Linked DNA regions of Homo sapiens: region 2 is linked to region 1. Evidence: promoter capture Hi-C in 16 types of primary human blood cells and fetal thymus (Javierre and others, 2016). All regions are on one chromosome and are shown on one strand. Each heading gives the region's core, a stretch centred on a gene start or on the middle of the fragment in contact. The rest is flanking DNA. Distances are from core to core; before and after follow the strand shown. Region 1 holds the start of TTC7B (tetratricopeptide repeat domain 7B). Region 2 overlaps NRDE2 (NRDE-2, necessary for RNA interference, domain containing).

The links. The method cuts DNA at HindIII sites, captures the fragments that hold promoters and counts their contacts. A CHiCAGO score of 5 or more calls a contact.
Region 2: a fragment that was not itself captured here is called in contact with the fragment with the promoter of TTC7B in region 1 in 4 of 17 cell types (endothelial precursors, M1 macrophages, erythroblasts and 1 more); the score reaches 8.6 in endothelial precursors.

Annotation. Positions count from the first base shown.
Region 1 is chr14:90,811,379-90,819,166 of GRCh38, forward strand. It overlaps TTC7B (tetratricopeptide repeat domain 7B), which reads right to left and starts at 5,052. Exons shown (of 20, transcript NM_001010854.2): 1 at 4,797-5,052. The coding sequence starts at 4,917. RefSeq lists a silencer at 5,046-5,225. The HindIII fragment of the contact is 10,969 bases long and covers 1-7,788 here.
Region 2 is chr14:90,298,538-90,306,325 of GRCh38, forward strand. It overlaps NRDE2 (NRDE-2, necessary for RNA interference, domain containing), which reads right to left. Exons shown (of 14, transcript NM_017970.4): 5 at 5,398-5,845; 6 at 4,183-4,588; 7 at 2,702-2,835. Among named protein-coding and RNA genes, the nearest start is that of NRDE2, 30 kb to the right of the region's middle. RefSeq lists a silencer at 4,268-4,562. The HindIII fragment of the contact is 2,339 bases long and covers 2,468-4,806 here.

The DNA of each region.
Region 1 (7,788 bases), core at 3,802-6,301:
CAACAGGGGCTGCCTCACCCCACAGCAGTGACTCTCAGTTAAACCTCAGTCCTGTTTCCAGAGAAGACCCTCAGGCCAGCCAGGGAGGACCATAGTCCACCCCGACTCCTCTTCTTCACAGGAGGGTGTGCATGACCAGGTGTCGTCTAGGAGCCCAGGACCCTGCACCCTCCACCAAGGGGAAGCCACATCACTGTGGATGCCCGTGCTTAAAACAACACAGATCTCCACATCCTCTTCTTCATGGCCTGAAAACATTTGCTTACCAAACTATGCCCCAGAAATACTCTTTGTTTCAGGCACCATTTCCCTACCTACCCGTCACCACGAGGTAATTAAAATGTCTCAAAATCTTATAGGATCCGACAGGCAATGATCTCCTAAGGGAGAAGCTACCATTTGGGGCCTAATCTTTCTAAGTGAACTCAGTCGCCGAGCTTGCCTAAGAAGATTAACAGGCTGGGGAAGGCGGGAAGCCACACTGCCTCAGAAAAGGGAGCAGCCGTCCGTCAGGACAGTCGCAGACCTCCAATGTGCCTGTTTGTCATTGCAATAGGTGGGAGTCTTGACCGGGCACTAGCTCAACTGTGTCATTTCTTGGTCCCCCACTCTCTTTTTTCCCTGCCAGGCTGACAGCTGGGACCTGGCCTACCTTGCCCAGGGTCACAAGGGGTCAGCTGCAGGGAACCAACCCCATTATGACCATGTGCCCTGGCTGACAGGTACCATCCCACTGAATCCTCACACGTGCCCTGAGAGTGGGCATTCTGAGCTGGCTGAGCAGGGAGGAAAGGCAGGCTCCGAGAGGCTAAGAACCTGGCTGGAGATCACCTAGCCACTACAGGTAAGGTCCAAATTTTAGACCCGGTGCCAGGTCACTGCACTTTCACACACAGTGGTGACCTCATCATTGGGAGGCTGGAGGGTGACATTCTGTAGAGAGAGGACAGCTGGGCCTGTCCTCCCAGAGACCAGGACCGACCTGTGAGCCCACATGAAGCTGATGTGCAGCTCTGTCTTTATCCCTGAGCGCTCAGGCTGCTGCCTCAGCTCCAAGCCAGGGCACCTCAGGCTTCTCTGAGTCCCCCAAACCCCTGGACACCTTGCTGAGATGTGGATTCTAACCCTGCACGTCTGAAGCCGGCCCAAGAATCCGCATTTCTCACAGGTTCCCGGTGGTGCCCCTGCCACTCATCCCCAGGCCACACTTCAGCCCACGAGGGCCTAGGCTTCCGGGGGACTGTCTCCCACCCCCACCCTTAACTTAGGTGACCATTCTCTCAGTGGGACTCACCCGGGTCTGGTGCACAGCTAGGTTCCACCACATTTGGGTTTTTTGAGATGGTGCAATGAAAATGGTGACTACGGTAGGGTACGAGGAAGAAGACAGACCTCTGGGTTCACTTTTCAACTTGGCATTTGTCCTTTTCTTCCTTATCCACCTCTTGGCAAAACATCTAAACCAATTCATCTCAAAGGAGCCAGGCTGGGGCAGTACACTCTGAAAGTGTCCACTATTTAGAGTCCTTAACGGGGAGGGGCTGCCACGCTTCCTTCCCGTAAGGAGCTAATGCTGCTGGGTGGGGAAGCCCACTACAAGTGGGAGCTTTGGGAAGGAGGGATTCCTCTGCTCAGAACTCTCCCATAGCCCTGTCTCACTCACAGGAAAGCCAAAGCCTTACCCTCGGCCTATCAGGCCCCGCCACTTTCTACCCATGAAGTTCCCTCCCTAGAACATGCTTCTCCACCTCCTTAGGTCTCATCTCAGATGTTGCCTTCTTGGGGACACCTTTCAGGGCCACCCTATTTAAACTAGTAGTTCCTGCAACCCCCACTCCCAGCCCACTCCAAAGCACCTATTCACCTTCCCCTTTTTCTCTTTGATAGCACTGACCACCATCTGACACCCTGTAAACTTTACCTAATGATTATATTGATTATCTGTCTCCCTGCCCCTTTCCTACTGGGATGTGAGTTTCATAAGGGCTGAGATTTTTGCCATTTTTGTCTGTTTTGTTTACCAGTGTATTTCCAGTGCCTAAAACAGTGGCTAGCACAGAGCAGGTACTCAATCTTTGTGGAAGGAAGGAAGGAATGAGTGGCTGGCCCTGAGAGACATTAGCTACTTTAACCCTCATAACAACCCCTGCAAGGTAAGTCATTTAAATCCCGTTCTAAAATGAGAAAACTGAGGCTCAGAGTGGTTAAGTGATTTGGCCAATGTCACAAAGTCAAGAAGTGGCCAAGGTCACAAGAATCAGTCCCCCATCTGGCTGGCTCCAAACACTGTATTCTTTTTTTTTTTTTTTCGCCTGTGGTTGTTTTCATGGTAACTGTCTTAGTGTGACAAACGTGACATTCACTTGCTTTCCTTATTCTAAGCAGAAGATGCTTTAACTTCAGGATTTTGCAAAATCTGCCCAGAACTTGTGCTCATGCACCCGAGAATCTATGGGGGAGCCGGTGCCCCCAAAAGCCAGGAAGAAGTCCCTCTACCAGCCCGAGAGTGGGAAGGCCTCACCAGTCAAACGGAGGGAAGGCCCCTCTTGCAAACACCAAAGGAGAGCCACAATCATTCTAGTTTAGTTTCATCTTTTTCTTGGCTTCATCGTTTTATTTTCCTGAGCACTCACTCTGTCTGATCTTTTCAAGTCCGGGTAACTTTTTGCCATCAATGGCTACCACTCACCATGTGAGTCTCTAGGACAAAAATCTATGTCCCATGAGTTTCCCCAAACTGAACTTGCACACAGACCCATGGACCACAGTGCCCCCGCAAACCCCGATCCCCAAGCCCCACTCATGACTGCATCTTAGGACATTGGGAGCAGCCCCTGGGAAGAGAGCTAAGCCTTTCGGGGGCCATGAAGGTGAATAGGAAGGGCCCAGGCCACCAAAAACCCATCTACCCTCTCATTCCAGGGACCATCATAGCTTGAGTCCCCCTTCATCTGCCTGTCATTCTCAATCACATTAACTCATCTGTTTTGTTTCAATCACTTCTCACTATCTGAAGCTGTGCTGTTTATTTATTTCCATATTTGCTTATCACCTGCCTCCTGAGAGCAGGGTGAGGGCATAAGGGCAGGGGCTTGGTCAGTGCTGTTCACCACTGTTCTGTGACTGGCACAGGTGGGCACGCAAATATTGGGTGAATGAATAAGCAAAGACAGCAGGAAACAAGTGGATTCAGAAGAAAAAAGACCAGGAGGCTCACAAATAAACCCATTTAATCCTAAAATCAACCTGCACAGAAGGTGTCATTATGCCTACACCGCTGGGAAGCCACAAAGTAGACCCAGGACTGTGCAACTCCGAGAGGAAAAGAGAAAATGCTGCAGGTAAGCGGAGAAGCAGGTGAGCCCGACACGGAGGGCAAAGGCAAGCTGCCTCTGGGGCCCAGGGCACTGAACACCATCTCCTCAAAGGCTGACATAACTGAGAAGGGTCCACATTTTCCACCAAGTGGAGCCCGTGTAGGGTCGGTGCTATCTCCATGCCCCTGACACACCATGGCACCTGCGTTCACCCAGAAGGTACCTGCCCACAGCATGCATCCATCATTGAGAGTGCGCAAAACCAAGTTCTAATTTCCAGGCACTAATACCATAGGACACAAACATAAACCACCCTCCAGGAGGACACCTGACATCCCTCTCCTTTCTGGGTAGTCTGAAGTGAGAAGGTTGAAAATAGTGCAGATGTCCTTTCTTAGAGCAGCCCCGCCATCCATTCATTCACTCTTTCATTCATTTGTTCAGCCAACATGTGCTCACTGGGCCTGGGGAAGCCCAGGATGAAATGAGACAAACCCTCTGCCCTCTGGCCACGGTGTGCTGGTGCCTGCGCTTTAGGCGGGTACTAAAAGACAAGCAAATATTAAAGATACTCGCTTCCAAAACAAATAAGGCCACGTGGAGCTGTGCACTGGAATGGGATTCTGGATGCAATTTTATTTGATTGGGTACAAGAACCAATCCAGTTAAAGGGGTCATGAACCAACTCCAGGCACCAGGCTCCTACTCAGAGGCTGCCTCAGACCCCCTTCTGGCCCAGGCACCAACCCCTCACCCACCCAACTCCATCTCCCGACATTCTTCAACCACATTCCCATCTCGCTCCACAATATTCTCCCTCCAGGTCCCCCTGACTCTATTTCTCCTCTATTCCCAACCCTGACCTCTCTAGGTCGGCAGCCTTGATGCTACTTCTCCGAACGCCAGGACGCACATCCCAGCCTGCTTTCTACCACCACCCCACACACCTCGAGTCTGCGCTTCCACCCAGAACCCCTTAAACACCATATGTTTACAAACCAGATTCCCCAGGGGTCTATGTACAACACCCCATTCTCAAGACCCCATAAACACATCCTGATTCCCTGAGCACACCATACACACACTGTGGACTTCACCCATGTCCTGAGGGACCCCCTCACCCCATCACCTCCAACTTCTTGGAAGCCCCAGGCCGGCCCCTGACCTCCTGTGGTCCCAGTGGAGCAGCGGACTCGCTGAGACCCCCGGACACCCCAGACTCCGCAGAAGCCCGCCCTGCACGCTTGAACCCCAGGCGCCGGGACAGCCCCTGGCGCCCCCCCGGGCCCCCACACCGCGTGACTCCGGGGCACCCGGGCTCCCCCAGGCCCCGGTCCCGCGCACATCCCCTGGGCCGCAGCTCCCTCGCGGCCCGGCCGCGCCCCTGCCCGCGCCCCGCGCCCGGCCGCGCCTCGGGGGCCCGTTCCCGCGGAGGCCGCGGCGCCCCCCGCAGCCCAGGCCGGCGCGCCCGGAGCGTACCGTTGGCGATGAGCTTGGCCGACAGCTGCTTGACGAGCTCAGGGATCCGCTCCCACTGGCACTCGGAGCGGCAGCGCTCGATCTCCGTCTCCAGCCGCGAGCCTGCCTTCTTGGTCGCCATCGCGGCCTGGCCGGGCCCGGCCGCCCGCCCCGCAGGCCCCACCGCCGCCGCCGCGGCGCCCCCTCGCCGCCTCCCGCCGCCGCCGCGGGCTCGGGCTCCGGCTCCCGGCTCCGCGGCGTAACGGGAGCGCCGGCTGGGGAAGGGGCGGGGAGGCGGGCGGCGGCGGCGGGCGCGGCGGGGCCCCGGGCGCCGCGAGGAGCGGCCCCTGCCGGCCAGGGCCGGAGCCGCAGCACTGACCGGGGCCGGAGCCAGGGCTGGGGCAGGGGCGGGGGCTAGGGCGGGAGACAGGGGCCCGAGGGAGGAAAGGCGGGGTGGGCATGGAGGACAGGGAGAGGGACTGGGGGTGTCTGGGGCGGGGTGAAGACCGAGGGGAAGTGGGGATGGGGGTGGGGGAGCGGGGTAGGAGAGAGATCTGACCAAGGGCGGGTGAGGGGTCTGGTGGGGTAGGGGTCTGGGCAGGATGAAGGGGAGGGAGAGGATCGGGAGGGAGCTAGCGACAGCCTGGGAGCGGGTTGGATCCCCAGGAGTAGGGCCAAGAAAGGGCAGTGACCCTGGGGAAGGTCACCGCCCGGTGGGACCAGTGAGCCAGGTGTGAGGGGTGGGGGGAGGCCTGCCCGAGTTTGTCCTGCCATCTCAGGTGGCCAGCGGTTCCCTGGGGCCCGGTTGGCCTGTGCCCCTTAGCAGATGCCCCTCTGCCCCGCAGCCTTAGCCCCTACCCAGCCAGAGGTGGACGGAGACTCCTCCATCCCAGGCAAGGCACAGCACCTGCCAGGGGTGCCCTAGATGGCTGAGCGGAGCCAGGCAGGGGCTGCCACTCTCACACGCCAGCTCTCGGACCCCCTGAGGGGAAGGCACAGTCACTGGTGGGGCCTCCTGTCTTGGCCACCTAGACTGAGACCTAGGGAGGTGTCCCTCTGTGTTCTCTCAGTGAATCAACTGTCTAGTGATCACCTACTATGTGCTGGGCGCTGCTTTAGGTGCCAGAGATAGAATTGTGAGCTAAAAAAACAAAATTCCTGGCTTGAGAGAGCTTACATTCCAGTTTGGGGGAAAAATAAGCAAAATAAAATAGTAAACTAGACTGTAAAAATGGCTATTTGAAGAAACAGGGAAGGGTTCAGTGAGGAACATAAAGAGTTGGGACAGGCGGGTGGCTCATGCCTGTAATCCCAGCTACTCAGGAGGCTGAGGCAGGATGATTGCTTGAGCCCAGAAGGTGGAGGCTGCAGTGAGCAGTGAACGCACTTCAGCCTGAGCAAGTGTTGCCATTTAAAATGGAGCAGTCAGGGATGGCCTCACGGAGGTGGCATTAGACTTGAAGAAACTAAGGGGGAGCCATGAGGATATCTCTGGGGGAGGAGTATCCCAGGCAGAGAACACCACAAGTGCGAAGGCTCTGGGGTTAGAGCACACTGGGTGGGATGGAGAAATGGCAGAGGCCAGAGGGGCTGGGTGGAGCGAAGGAGAGGGGCCGAGGCAGGAGATGAACTCTGAGAGGTTGGGGGGAGTTCTGTGTAGTGCCTGGTGGGCCATTATAAGACCTTGGCTTTTGGCTGGGCACGGTGGCTCACGCCTGTAATCCCAGCACTTTGGGAGGCCGAGGTGGGCGGATCACGAGGTCAGAAGATCGAGACCGTCCTAGCTAACATGGTGAAACCCGTCTCTACTAAAAATATTTTTAAAAATTAGCCGGGCGTGGTGGCAGGCGCCTGTAGTCCCAGCTGCTGGGGAGGCTGAGGCAGGAGAATGGTGTGAACCCGGGAGGCGGAGTTTGCAGTGAGCTGAGATGGCAGCACTGCACTCCAGCCTGGGCAACAGAGAGAGACTCCGTCTCAAAAAAAAAAAAAAAAACTTTGACTTTTACTCTGGTGACATGGAGCAGCCCTGCAGGGCTTTTCACGGAAGAGTGGCATGATCAGACCTACACTTTGGACTATCACTGTGACTGCAGTGTTGAGAATACTGCCAGGGAAATAGCTGTGGTGGTGGCAGTGTTGGATTCTGGGTCCTGCATTTGAGAGTGAAGCGGTCAGTCTGGAAGGTTCCGTAGCCCGCCCGCAGTCACAAGGAGGCACTGAGGGGTCGTCGTCATTCCTTCTGGGTGCCCTTACTCCAACTTTCCAAGAGCAGTCACACGCAGGTTCTTATCCCCACCACAACTCCCCCACCACCGGAGTTGATGAAGAACACACACTGTGGACCTCAGTTTACCAATGAGGAGGCTGAATCACAGACATTTAAGAGAGGTGAGGAGGAAAGATAAGGAGATGTGTTCTGATGTGACCAGTATCACTTTCAGGTGCCTCAGGGACTGCCAAGGTGATGGAAGTTGAGCTGACAGGCCCTGGACACTGTGAACAGCCCAGGGAAAGGGGAACTAGAACGTTAGAGTTTCAACAGGGGACCCTTTAGTGCCCTGGCCCTTAGCTCCCACCAAGAGGGAGCAGGAAGGGAAGGAGAAGAAATCTCCACAGGAGATGTTTCCTCTCTCCTGACACCCTCCTGTTCTCCCAACTCCAGTCTGCCTCTCCAGATTTGCTGGGAATGTTCTCCATCTGGACCAGGAGACAGATTCCTGTGCCTTCTTTCAGACACGGGCCAAAGGTTACTGGGCAGCCTTGCTCAACATCTGACAGACCTTGTGTGACAGCACTTGCCATCTCCCTCTGGGAAGGGGCAGGGTCTTAATCATGACTAACGCATACACTGCCTCAGTTGCCACACTGGAAGGTAAATGATGAGGGCCACCTGTCTGCCTCCCTACCTGATAAGGTGGCTTCATGAGGACGGATGCTGCCTGGGCCATGGCATTTAACATCCCCAGGCCTCCATTTCTTGGCTGTGATACCTCCCCCTGGAGCTCGTTGAGGA
Region 2 (7,788 bases), core at 2,387-4,886, 510 kb before region 1:
AGAAAAAAGATCTATCTAGCGTGGCAGGCAGCTTCCAAGATAGCCCCCATGACCCTACCTCTGCCTTGTGGTTTTCACACTCGCATGTGAGCTGGACCTAGTGATTCCAACACACAAAATATGGCAAAAGTGATGGGGGGTCACTCCCGGGATTAGGTTACAAAAAGACCAGCTGAGGTTCAGCAAGAAGGGTCTCCAGATGGGTAGGAAGGGAGTAGTTTCCTAGTTCTTATCCTGCCAGGCCAGTCTAACCAGGGACAGTGGCACTGCCAGTTCACCTAGTATCACTGGACCCCCGAGCTAATTCCTAAAGTCATGCCGCTTTCAAGATATTTTGAGAGGAAGGTTCCAACAAGACAGACCATGAGCTACGTGACACAACCATATCTTAAGTAACTATATATTCCTAACACCTGGCACAATACTTACTGCCTAGCAGGGACTCAATAAACGCTTGTTGGCACAGATCTGAACAAGGCAGGCGACCAGGGAGTAAAAAGGTCTGCATTTTTTATTTTTATTTTTGAGACAGAGTCTCGCTCTTGTTGCCCAGGCTGGAGTGCAGTGGTGTGATCTTGGCTCACTGCAACCTCCACCTCCCCGGGCTCAAGCAATTCTCCTACCTCAGCCTCCCGAGTAGCTGGGATTACAGGCATGAGCCACCACACCCAGCTAATTTTGTGTTTTTTTAGTAGAAACAGGGTTTCTCCACGTTGGTCAGGCTGGTCTCCAACTCCTGACCTCAGGTGCTCTGCCCACCTTAGCCTCCCAAAGTGCTGGGATTACAAGCCTAAACCACCGCGCCCAGCCTAAAGGTCTGCATTTTAAAGCCTGGCCCCATTAGCACCTCCCTCATTCATTCGAGCATTAGGTGTGTGGTAAGCAGCTCACTGGCAATAAATCTTTCCCTATGGAACAGAATGTGAACACAGCAATGAACAGAAACGTGATCATGTTATCAACTGGAAACAGGACTGTGAAAGTGAGCCAATAACCTACTCAGTGAAAGCTTTTGTAAGAAACCTTTTGAAGAGGACAAGCAGGCTTCCAGTGGGCACAGCATGGGCCATGAGCCACAGGATTATCTAGCCTGAGCCCTGGGCAATGCCACACACGCCTGGAGGAGTATTGCCTCCAGGAGAGTCACGTCAGGGCAGGGCAAACGTCCTGACACGTCAGTCATCCTCAGAAAGGGGAACCAGGACGACTACGCTCCCTCTTTAGAGGTCTGGCTCTTGTAAGAGTGAAGAAAGAAAGTTTACTTAAGAAAAAAAATTTTTTTTAAATAGTGTGATAAATGAGTATAATCTATTTGTTTATTCCACAGAAACGCAGACCAGTAATATCAGACCTGCCTGTGTTAAATCACGCTACTGTGTTCACGGTAACAACGTCTCTCAGTTATAAAAGCAATATGGAATATTAGTAAATAAGAAACTTTATTCCAAAGTTGTCATGTAAATGCTTTGGAATCACATGTGCTATTCGTGTTTAAAACCTCAAGCACGAGGATCGGGGTCTCCCAACACTTTAGAGCAGTGGTCTTCGATGGGTCACATTTGTAGGCAGAACCCTCCACCCATCACTCTGTTCTTATCACAGAGGGTCTTAGGAAAGGGGCAGGGGGAGGGGGTGAGAGAAATTCTGATCCTGACCCACAAGGTTCCTTAGAGTCAGCTGAGAATCACTTCTGTAGTACAGCCTATTCTTAAAATCTCACAGCATGTCTTAAAATTACTCTGTTATATGGTTTATTAATGATTGATTATAGCAATTTAACTGGTATAATTCTTTAATCCAATTTTTTCTAGAGGTAGCATCATGATAAAAATGGTCTTTACTGGCAATTCATGAAACTCCCACATGACGGAGGCCTTGGCCTCTCAAGAAACACTTTTGAATGTTCACCATAAACTCATATATTCTATTTATCTTCCACTAGACATCTTTACAGAGTAGAAAACTGAGTTTTATTTAGTGGAAAAAGGGAAAAGATACATTTTCTTATATACATAGCTCTATAAAAATTCTTTATTTCTTCACTTATCTTCATTTATCTCAAACATTGGCAATGCTCGCTTGTCATCTAAAGGATTAACCCTTCCCCAATAAGGATCACTGTTGACAAGGTATCTCTGTGTAATTTCATTTGCAACTCTAGCGAAGATTGTGGGTACTTAGAAGGTTAACTGAGGAAGTGATGCAAGACCCAAACTAGAATGTGTAAGGGTGGAAGAGAGTAATACAAGGTTTAAAATGGCATGACAACTGTTTCCCTGACTAGGGGAGCCAATCAGCATTTAAACAAAGGCAGAAAGGGGATGGGGGGGAGGAGGGGAGGGGAGGAGGAAGGGGAGGGGAAGGGGGCAGGGAAAGGAAAAGGAAAGGAGGAACACAGGCAGGCAGGCAGGCAGGCAGGGTGGGAGGGTGAGTCCTCAGAGAGCCTTTATGTTGTGAAGGAGGGGGAAGCTTCTTTACCTATCCACATCTCACCATTTTCATTACAAAACTTTCCTCAGATCACTGGACTATTTCTGAGAATTCCTCCTCAGCAGACTGATATAAAGGAGGATATGATATTTTAAAAACACTACCACACCACCTCTCATTATCCACACCACCTCTCATTATCCACACCTTCCCCCTCTCCCTCCAGAGAAAGAGCCAGGAAGAGAGAGATGAGGCGAGCAGAGCTGGGTACCTGTCCTTTGGTAGGCAGATCTTTCACGCTGTCGGGTTTGAAGAAGGTGAAGTCCACCATGGCCTGGAACAATGAGATGGCCTTCTCAGAGTGGCCAGCCTGCCGCAGAAAGTGGCACTGCTGAAGAAAGAGTGCTGCGAACAGGAGGGCAAAGGGGAAGAAGCCTGGTTGATACCGTTAAAGGGAAAGAACCTAACTTCTCAAAACAGGCAATTAACACATTGAGAACACCTTTCACCTGCAATCACTATTAATTTACAAAGCTGTGATACATGTCTTGATTTAAAGCGTCTCACACAGTATTATAATCCAAGTATGTTTGTTCTAATTTTTGTATGAAAGCATCACAGAACACAAATATTAACAACAAAAACTATATATAGTACATAAAAATAAGTCAAGAGGTTGGTCTGAATGCTATCAAATAATCACAGCTCATTATCACAAGAAAAATTATAGAAAAAGGATGGCGTAGCAGATTTTTATCAGAAAGCAAAGAGCTGTATTCAGTTGATCACTAGATGGCATTACTCACCAGCAACTTTCATCCTATGTTCAGAGTCGGCTGTAAACAAATCAAGGTTCCATGTCTGAACATTCCAGTTCATCTTACTTTTGGTACAATTCCAGCTACTAAATAACACTAAGCTATTTGTGTAGATCACATACAGTGACAAATTCAAGACTCTGTGTCAGTGTGATAAATGCTTATATTTTGAGAGCAATGTATTTCTATCTTTAGATGCCAACAGTAATTAATACTCAATAACAGGGGTTGTGATCAAATAAATGCCTGCTCTGTGCCGGACACTGAGCTAGACTCGCCATGGATTATCTCGTTTACTGTGCAACACAGTCCTGTAAAGCAGGTTTATAGTATTGTTGCTGATGGAGAAACTGGGGCTCAAAGAGGACCTGCCCAAGGACACAAGAGAGCCAGTGAAGGGCAAACCCTTCAGGATTCAAGGTCAAAAGTGATACTCTCTGGCTCTGCATAACATGCAGCCTCCAACATCTCATTACTGTCAAAATTAATGTTCCAGGTTCCTTCAGGACACACCAAAAATGTTAACAGCATAATAATACCCAAAACTTCTATTTATGCAGTGGTTCCCAGTCAGGGCATCTCACGGACATTACTGCCTGGGACCCTACAATTGGGTGAGACAGGTACATGCATCTCGACAGATAAGGCCACCGACTGCCAAAGCAGTTAAGAGACTTGCCTATGTTTACTTGGCTAATCAGCAGAACCTTGTCCAGTGATATCTTAACTCTACTGGCCCTATTGCCCCCACCTGCCCTGGGAGCTGGGGGCAAATTTGTTATCAAAAAGAGTCGTAATACTTTTTTAAAAAAATCAGTTCTATCAAACAATTTAGACTTTTTCTAGAATAAATCAAAAATAGATCTTCATTTTCAAGTAAAGCCAAAAGAAAGTCTAACTCCTCCCACGTAACTGGATCTGGTTATCTCCTTACCAAACATGGCCTCTTCCGTGCCAGGCAACGCAGGGTGAGATAAGATGCTGCCGTCCTTAACAGCAGACAAAGTGCTCAAGCATTTTCCATAAAGACTGTGAATTTTTGATATCGAAAAGGTACTAAACTGGCTCTGGCAAAATAAAAGGTATTTCTGCCAAAGGGCTGTATTATTGGGATGCAAAAATATCAGTTTCTGCCACTCTTTGACCAGAGTGGAGGGCTCCCAGAACTCTGTGCAGAGCTTCAGCTTGGCCAGTTTCAGATCCACACTGCTCTGGTTGCTCTCAATGGCCCGCTCCAGAATGGCCAGCTTCTTCTCCAGAATGAGCTTCAGGGACCTCTTTCGCTTTTCCTGCTCTCCTTCCTCGATGGCATACAGGCCAGGACTTTTCATGACCTCGTCCTCAACAACAAAAACACCAATTTACAAATGCAAATGGACCTGGGAGATCCTGAGTTTCAACAATGCTTACTGATTTTCTTACCACCCCCTAGGGACTTTCTTAAACCACCAGTTTGCCACTATTTCTTTTAAAGAAAACCTGGATCCTAAAGTGCTTGTGTCACCTGATATGTTTGATCTTGTATTTATCACTTAATTATCCACTCTCTGCCATTTTAAGCTTTGATTTCTGCATCAATGACTAGCATACAATGCCTTGAAAGTCTTTTCTGAAGAGCAGACCTTACCAATAAAAGGGCCAAATGTGGCACAAAATATGGTAATTGTATGAGTGGTTCAAAATTAGGGATTCAGACAAACCTACAAGTTTTCGAAAGAGAATGCATGGCTCTAACTGGGTAATACACTGAACAGCCCTCTCTCTTTCACAATTCCGTGAGCTCTGCCTGTTCTGTTTGTACTTCAGGAATGCCTCTCCCTACCTGGTGAACATCTCTTCTTTCAAGATTGTGTTGAACTTCACCTTCTCCTTGGTAGCTCTTTCTCCTCCCTCAACACAAGCCATTCCCTCACTCCACTCCCAAGTTATACATTACAGCATTTACTACCCCAGGGTGCACTTATTCTTCGCATGTCCATTTTCCTCATTGGACTTTGAGCGAGCTCAGGGCAAAGGCTCTATTCTAATAATCTTTGTATGCCCAGTGTCAAATTTCCTCATTTGCTCAAAAATTGCTGCACAGTCCATCAGTTTGCCCAAAATCAGGAATGTCCTTCTAAGGTAAGAGAATTGGGATGGCAACACATACCTGAAAAGCAACAAATGCCATCCACAGCTGCGTATCCCGAGGATTCTCCCGCACCCTCCTGTTAAACTCCTCCACCTTGGCCTTGAGAGCCGCACTCTCGCTGTCTGGCTGTGCGTCTGGCTGCTTTGATTCCTGCTCTGGAGGACCCTGTCCTTGTAGCCAATGTGTGGTTGACTGATCATAAATCCCCAGAGGATTCAACCAGGTTGTAACAGGAGCCGCATCTTCCAAGTCCTTCACTGGTATAAAGGAGATGGGCTCAGATGAGGGAGGTTCAGTTTTACTGCTAATGGCAACTCCATCGATGTTCATTAATCCCACACTCTTCTTAGTAAAATAGCGTTCAACCTGCTTGCGTGAATGCTTCTTCTCTGTGGAAGTCCCTTCCCAAGATATGCACTGCTTCTTAGGGTTAATGCCAAGGCAGGAGTCTCCTTTCCTCTTGTATCTGATATTAGAAAAAGAAAAAAAGTTACTGAGGGAATACGTGTACTACCTCTGAATGACTAAAGGCGCATTAGACCTAAACTCTCGTTATGCAGGTTCACTGCATATAACCAAATTCACCTCACCTTCAGATTGTTTCTATTTGGAGATACACAAGGACTAGTAATTAACTTTCTTTCTGCCTGGCTTGACTTCTTCCTATAACACTTCAACTCTTCTTTAACATCTCATGAATTTAAGATCATGCCTGTCTTCTAGATCTTAGTAATTTCTATTTTCCTGGAGCCTTGTAAAGAACTGTCACACACATTATGTCATTTGATCATCACAGCCATATGTGACAGGCAAGGCAAAAATTATCATCCCTTCTCTTAACTGTTCCTAAATAAGGACACTGAGGCCTGGGAACCTGGATCATCTGTTTCCTAGACCAGTCCTGTTTTCTCAATATTTTCCTGTGTCCCTACTTAAGAAGATAACATATAGGCCTAAGATTCTTTTTTTAATCCTGAAACAAAGTATGTCAAATGAAATTACATTTGGTTATTTTCTACTCTAGAGGAAAAGAGGTTGGGTTCTAAAACGCTTTTATGGAACATGTAGGCGTCCCCAGAGTTAACAAACACATGACTACTGAATATTTGCACAGGCAAAAGCTAAGGAAAATTGTACATTTTTCTGTATGTATGTTAGCAAACAATTCAATTTTAAAAACGGGCAAAAGATCTGAACTGAAATTCCACAAAAGAAGACATGAATAGCCAATAAGCACATAAAAAAAAAAACAACTCAACATCCTTAGTCAACAAGGACATGCAAATTAAAACCACAATGAGGTACCCCACACACCAACTAGAACAGTGTTAATATTTAAAAGGCTGACAACACCAAATGTTGGTGAGTAACCTGTGGAGTAACCAGGACTCTCATCCGCTGTCAGCGGGAATGTAAACTGGTATAATCACTTTGGGAAAAGATCTGGCTGTTTCTTAAAAAATTCAACACAGACCTAACCTATGACCCAGCAATTCTATTCCTACATATTTACCCAAGAAAAAGGAAAGCACATGTCTACACAAAGACATGAGCACAAATGCTCTCGGCAGCTTTATTCCTAACAGCCAAACACTGAAAGAGTCCACGTGTCCATCAATAGAAGATGGATAAGTAAACAGAGGTACAGCCATACAATGGAATACTACCAGCAGTAAAAAGGAGCTACTGGTAAGTGCCTTATGGACGGATGATCTCAAAAACATTACACTGAGTGAAAGAAGCCAGAAGCCAGATACAAAAGAGTACACACTGTATAATTCCACTTACATGCATTTTAGAACAGGTAAAAACGAATTGAGGGTGGAAACAAGTAAGAACGGTGATTGCCTCTGGGAGAATGGGGTACAGACTTACCAGAAAAGAGCACGAGGAAACTTCTGGCGGTCAGAGTAATATTTCACATTTTAACAGAGGTTCGGGTGAGAATGAAGCTTTGTGCATTACATTGCATGTAAATTTTCAATTAAAGGAATAAAACTAAATAAATATTGACCTCTAGTTAATAATACACATGCTGAAGTATTTAGGGGGTTGTTTATTGATCTGCAGTTTACTTTGAAATGCATCAAAAAAATAGGATGGGCTGATGGATGGACACATATGACAAAACAAGTACAATACAAACTTAATGGATACAAAGTTAATGGTAGATGTAGGGGGCAGTTATACGAGCATTCACTGTAAAAATCTTTCAACTTTTGCTGTATATTAAAATTTTTTCCTAATAAAACCGGAAATGCCGTGGGGAGAAAAAGGCAGGGGAGAACTGCCTTCATCTTCTGTCAGCTCCCAGGAAGCTCCGCTCCACTTCACCTTGGTTCAGGGCCGGGCTCTCTCCCTCACCTCTGTGGCTTCTCTGCGGTCAACAGGTCCCCTCTCTAAGTGCCT